Linked DNA regions of Homo sapiens: region 1 is linked to region 2. The links are contacts of gene promoters, found by promoter capture Hi-C in human tissues and cell types (Jung and others, 2019). All regions are on one chromosome and are shown on one strand. The core of a region is centred on a gene start or on the middle of the fragment in contact, and the rest is flanking DNA. Distances in the headings are between cores, read along the strand shown. Region 1 overlaps ARHGAP31 (Rho GTPase activating protein 31). Region 2 holds the start of POPDC2 (popeye domain cAMP effector 2).

The links. Contacts are between HindIII fragments. The study calls those that stand out against the background at their distance.
Region 1: a contact is called between a fragment that was not itself captured here and the fragment with the promoter of POPDC2 in region 2, in 1 of the 25 tissues and cell types used here (bladder).

Annotation. Positions count from the first base shown.
Region 1 is chr3:119,304,842-119,307,933 of GRCh38, forward strand. All of the region lies in intron 1 of ARHGAP31 (Rho GTPase activating protein 31), which reads left to right. Among named protein-coding and RNA genes, the nearest start is that of ARHGAP31, 12 kb to the left of the region's middle. RefSeq lists a silencer at 481-775. The HindIII fragment of the contact is 3,759 bases long and covers 1-3,092 here.
Region 2 is chr3:119,659,293-119,662,001 of GRCh38, forward strand. It overlaps POPDC2 (popeye domain cAMP effector 2), which reads right to left and starts at 1,297. Exons shown (of 4, transcript NM_001369919.2): 1 at 641-1,297. The coding sequence starts at 1,131. The HindIII fragment of the contact is 12,678 bases long and covers 857-2,709 here.

The sequences.
Region 1 (3,092 bases), core at 353-2,852, 350 kb before region 2:
CCAAGATGGCGCTACTGCAATCCAGCCTGAGTGACAGAGTGAGACTCTGTCTCAAAATAAAATAAAATAAAATAAAATAAAATAAAATAAAATAAAATAAAACTTTTAAAAAATGGTGCTAACTGACCCTCTGTTTCTTGATTAAATCTATCTGTATGGCATAAATGTCCAACTGCAGAGTCTTCCACTATATGGAAAGTTCTGTTTTGTCCCCATCTTATGAAGAAGGACCAACTCAGAGAGGTTAAGTAACTTGCCTCCTGTCACCCAGCCAGGAAGCGGCAGAAGCAAGACTCCAGCTGTGTCTGTGCAACATTAAATTCTCCTTCCATGGCTTTGTCTGCTCTTGACCCAACGAGACACAGCTATGCTAGCAGTAAAACAGGTCTGATATGCAGAGCTCCATTTTGCCATGCATTGCCAAGGTGATAAGTTCAGTAGGATTTAGTTAGACTTAATAAAACTTCTGGCAATTGAGTTCCCATCCCCAGTTTTTCAAAGTAAAACACTTAGGTTCCAAATGGCAGGATTCTAAACAGAGAGCATGCCCTGTTACCATAAGTAGCCCCTTCCACCACTTCTTTCCCATCTGTTTCCTGCATGCTGGGTATTATTGGGAAACAATGATGTCAACTCTTCCATATAAATCTACACCTCCCTGCCAGCCCCTCCCCTACAATGCATATTTTTGTTCCTCTTTCTGGCTTTTGTCTTGCTGTTCTGCTAAGGACTCATACTTTTGGCGACAATTGTTGGCTTTCTTTTTAACAAGTTTTAGCTATTTAAGCTTTATTGTGGCCTTCAAAGTGCACATGCTTTTTGGGGCCTATATTTGGAAGATCCTTTGTTTGGCTAATAGCTAGAATATGAGCTTGGTGCTAATGGAGAAGAGCCATGTTGCTTTCTGGAAAAGCAAAGCCAAATGCAGGTCTCTGAATCAAGCTCAGAGCTGAGGACAGAAACGCTGCTTGGGTTGGGGGCCCTCTGAGGCTGCATTAAAGCTGTAGCTGCCCTGGACACAGAGCCTATAGCTAAAGGCCAGGAGAATATCCCCTTCAGGTAATCTGTAAACGTCCTGTTTTCCCCCCTCCTAAGCCTGACTTCCAAATGGGGCATGGTTTCCTCAGTTTTCCTTTCTTTAGTAACTCTAAAGACAATTTGGTTTCAGATGGAAAGGAGGGCTAGTTCTCTGGGTACAGTATGAGTTTTAAATTCAGAGTCCGAGAATTCTGGACCTCTCTTGTTAATCCTTGGGCAGCATTTCTCAAACTTTACTGGGCATAAGAAAGACTAAAAATGTAATTCTTGCTTTTAAATTTTAATTTTAAAATTAAATATTAGTCAATTTTAGTATACTACTAGAGATACTCTTCAAATCCAGTTTTGGACTCCTTGAGACAAAATGGACATCTAGTAAAAGTTTTCAAATGGGGCCGGGTGTGGTGGCTCAGGCCTGTAATCATAGCACTTTGGGAGGTTAGGTGGGTGGATCACTTGAGGTCAGGAATTCAAGACCAGCCTGGCCAACATGGTGAAACCCCATCTCTACTAAAAAAATTACAAAAATTAGCTGGGCATGGTGGCGCGTGCCTGTAATCCCAGCTACATGGGAGGCTGAGGCACGAGAATTGCTTGAACCTGGGAGGTGGAAGTTGCAGTAAGCCGAGATCGCACCACTGCACTCTAGCCTGGGGGACGGTGTGAGACTTTGTCTCAAAAAAAAAGTTTTCAAACGGGTATTTGCATAGGTTGTGTAATGTCTGGGTCGATGGAGAACATATGATTCTACCGAATGGGTTCCATAGTTTATAGGGCAGCAAGCTGTAAAGTGCTGCTGCAAGTCAGGATTCTGAGGTCCAGTTCCTCAGGGATTTTACTTTTGTTGGTCTGGGGTGGGAAATCCACATTTTAAAGATGAGCTCCAGGTGATCTAATATCCTTGGCCTACTGATCTCACTTTGAGAAACACTGACTTAGCACACAGAAAGAAGCAGCTATGTGAAACGACACGATTTTTATTTTCTTCATTATACTTTTATATTGCCCAACATTTCAACACTGAAGATACATTTTTATCTTTTAAATCAGAAAGAAACATTTCTAAAATTATTTTAGGAATAGTGTGTCTTGAGTCATTGGCTTTTTCATAAATGCCCTTTGTTTCAATCTTTATTTTTAGAAAAAAAAAACTAAGTCTGTTAGTTTTTTTTTTCATGCCTTAATAGATCCAGTATAGTGAAACCAATTAACCTATCCGCAGTGTGTAGCAGGGTGGTTGAGCATATGGTTTGTTTGCTGATAGACTACCATGATTCAAATTCCAACTCTACCACATGCTAGGTTTGTGACCATGGACAAGCTACCAAACCTCTCTATGCCTCAGTTTCTTCATCTGTAAAGTGGAGATTATGATGATAATGGTACCTACCACATAGAGCCATTATGAGCATTAAAGCAACTAGTGCACTGTTTGGAATTTAGTAAACCTTCCATACCTATTAACTATGGTTATCATTTCCTTGAGGATTGGAAATCTTACCGTGTTTCAGCCTTATTACTAAAAGTATGGTTCCTCGGTTATGCTATAGATGTGGAAGTTGAGAAAGCTGAGAACAAATATTCCAAGGCCCCCATCTATCCCTAGGGGTTTCTTTCTCTAAGAAATTCTCTTGTATGTACACAATTATTTATTTCCCTTGGGTGGATGTATAAAAATGCTAGTTTTAAGATTCTAATCTGTTGATAAATATATCTGGGGTGGGAATGTGGCAAACTTTCTAAGTTTTATATTTCTTTAGCAATTAGAAAAAGAAAATAATCTAAAAATAATTCTTCCTCCCTTATAAAGTTTATGATAAAAAGGCTATAATCACAGTGACAGCCATCTAGCCTGCTAGTTTCCATCTGTATTTCAGGAGAGTTATAAATCTGGCAATCAAGTCTGTTTCCATCATTGATGGAACAATGTAAGTCCTGGATTTTTGCTGGGCCATAAGACATCTCACATATGCCTATTTATTTGCCCCAAAACTGCATTTTGGAAGTTGACGGAATGAGGTAAATCTGGCTTGAGAGTGAATCCAAGTATGAAT
Region 2 (2,709 bases), core at 47-2,546:
CTTGACTTCTTAGTCTTCAAGAACCTCAATAGAACAACTGGAAATGGAAAGGTGGGCAAGGGGTATTCACTCTCCCTACCTGGCTACATACAGCTACCCCAAACACAAGTGGGGCTGTTTGCTTGATGCCTTGGCAGGGAACAGGGGTTATGAGAACCACCCCGCTATCCCGACCTCCCATTTCTGGCATTGTTCCCTGAATACAGTTGGTGCTTAGCAAATGTTGAATTTGAGTAAGGAACAGATTAACCTTATTGAAATGTTAGTTTTTCAAAGCTTACAGAGATATTGCTGCAGCTTAGGCATGACACACTGATATGTGTGTGGTGATGGTAGAGGGGTTATTTAAGGCCCAGGCTCAAGACACACGCACTGCACACCTTCCAGCAGCAAGTGCACATACAATCATTCTTGCCAACCAAGATGCCTCATGAACTGGTTTCTTCTTGGAAAATGCCAAGAAAGAGGAAGCAACCCCACTCTTAGAAAAATCTATTTTGGTTTGTTTGACTTGTCACATCCTTCCCTCAATGGAAGGGGACACGAAATGGAAAGGGACATGAAATGGAAAGGGACACACTAGGAAATGAGAAGTGTGGGCTGGGGAAAGAAATTCTGGGCAATGGATAGAGTAGCTTACCGGCCAGAGAGCAGCAGGGACAGGCGGTTGATGGGTGTCTCACCCTCCACAGCATAGGTCTGTTCAGTGGCCAGAGTTAAGACCTGCTCCTCGCAGCAGTGAACAATCTCCTTGTATGTCTGTAGGGGCACCTGCAAGGGCAGGCACAGCGTCTTGTAGAGGAGGTCAAACTCCTCAGGGAGGGTGTCCTCACGCAGGCGGTATACCAGGTGTGCCAGCTGGAGCAGGCAGACCACAGCCAGCAGGAAGCTCCAAAGAACAATGTCCAGGCCACAGGCACTGAACCAGCCCCACAGCACGCAGCACAGGTAACCTGCACTCAGGAAGCCAAAAAGATAGAAGCATCCATACACCCCACTGCCCCCCATGAAGCCCAGGAGTAAGAGGCAGTTGGCTAGGTGGTAGACAGCCCCTTCCACATCCTGCTTCCACCTAATGCACGCTGAACCCTGCAAGAGAAGCTGGCCCACTCTGCTGCTGTTGGCGCTCATCTTTGGGGCCTCTCAAAGCCTCACTGGGCTCTAATACTGTCCTCACATAGGAAATTCAGAAAATGAATGAATCCATCCGCTCAGGGGTCTTCTCACCTCCGGCTTCTCACTACCGACTCCACCTTTCCTAGAAGGAATGCTTCCGGTGGCTTTGGGAAGGAATGATGGAACATAGTACACTTCATGGAGAATTTAAAAACCTCTTTCTCTCTCTCTCTCTCTCTCCCCCTCTCCCCCCCTCTCTCCTCCCCACCACCCCCGCTGTCTCAGCAAGGCTCTGGCTCTCCCTGCAGAGCTCTGGCAAGCTTCCTTGGTTCCATGTTTCTTGGGAGTCTTCAAATTTGGTTCTTAGCAGAAAAACCTAAATAGTCCCAAGGGAAAGTAGCACTACAGGACTGAAAAGTCCAGCAGCGTGGGATGATGCGGCCACATCCTGCTCTCTGTTTTTCCCAAGCAGAATGAGGAGAGCCAGCATGGGAGGCACATTTGTGTTCCATTTGGAATGTGTTCTCTCTTGGCACCGGAAGAAAGGGTGACCCCAGATGGATACCATGTTTGGAATTGGAATCCAAGAGGTACTGGCAGTGAGAAAAAACAGGCCAGGCACAGGCAGCCTGGCAGAGCACTTAACATACCTCCCAGAGGACAAGATAAGACCTCAGGGTCAGAGAGACAGACAAGGAGAGAGAAAGGAAAAGTGAGCACAGAATTCACCTGAACACCTCAGGCAGGAAACTGTCCCGAGCTCCCTTTGGGGAGAGCCAGACAGTGCTTCTGAGTGAGGACACATCAGAGTAGGAAAGTATGGGACTATTATCAGAAAAAATCCTAACAGTGAAAGCTGGAAAACCCCCTGAAGGCCTTTATTAAGTCACACTGCAAATATCATTATGTATTTATTTGACATCCATTTAACAAAAGTAGCTATGTAAAGTGGCTTTTTGAATTCTAAGCTGGCTTTCCCCTGCATATATCTGGATCTGGTAATAGTAAACAAATAATAATACATTGCCCAGATCATCATCCCACCCACTCCGGTGCTTCCAAATTATAATTCCCACCTATTAAACACCCATGAAGTGCCAAACCTAGATTAGGCATTTTATACACTTATAAGTTAGTTGTGACAACAATCCTTCAAAATAAATATTATTCTCCTTCTAGATCTGGAAGAAACTGAGGCTCAGAGAGGTAACAAGCTCCCACAGATGGTCTAAGTGGCAGAGCCAGGATTTGAACCCAAGTCTGTCAAACTTAATACTCTGTCCCAAGGGGTTTGCCAGTAAGTGGAAGTACAGTACTAGATCCATGACTCCCAACTCCACACTTCTATGAAGTCTGACAATTTTCAAGGAACTTCTGGTTGAACCTAGGAATCTACTTTGGGCTGCCAAGAGATAAAGCTGGAGTATGCAAACATTAGGCTAAGAAATGTTAGTTGGGCACAGTGGCTTACGCCTATAATCGCAGCACTTTGGGAGGCTGAGGCGGGTGGATCACCTGAGTGAGGCTGGAGTTCGAGACCAGCCTGGCCAACATGGTGGAAACCCTGTCTCTACTAAAAGTATAAAAATTAGC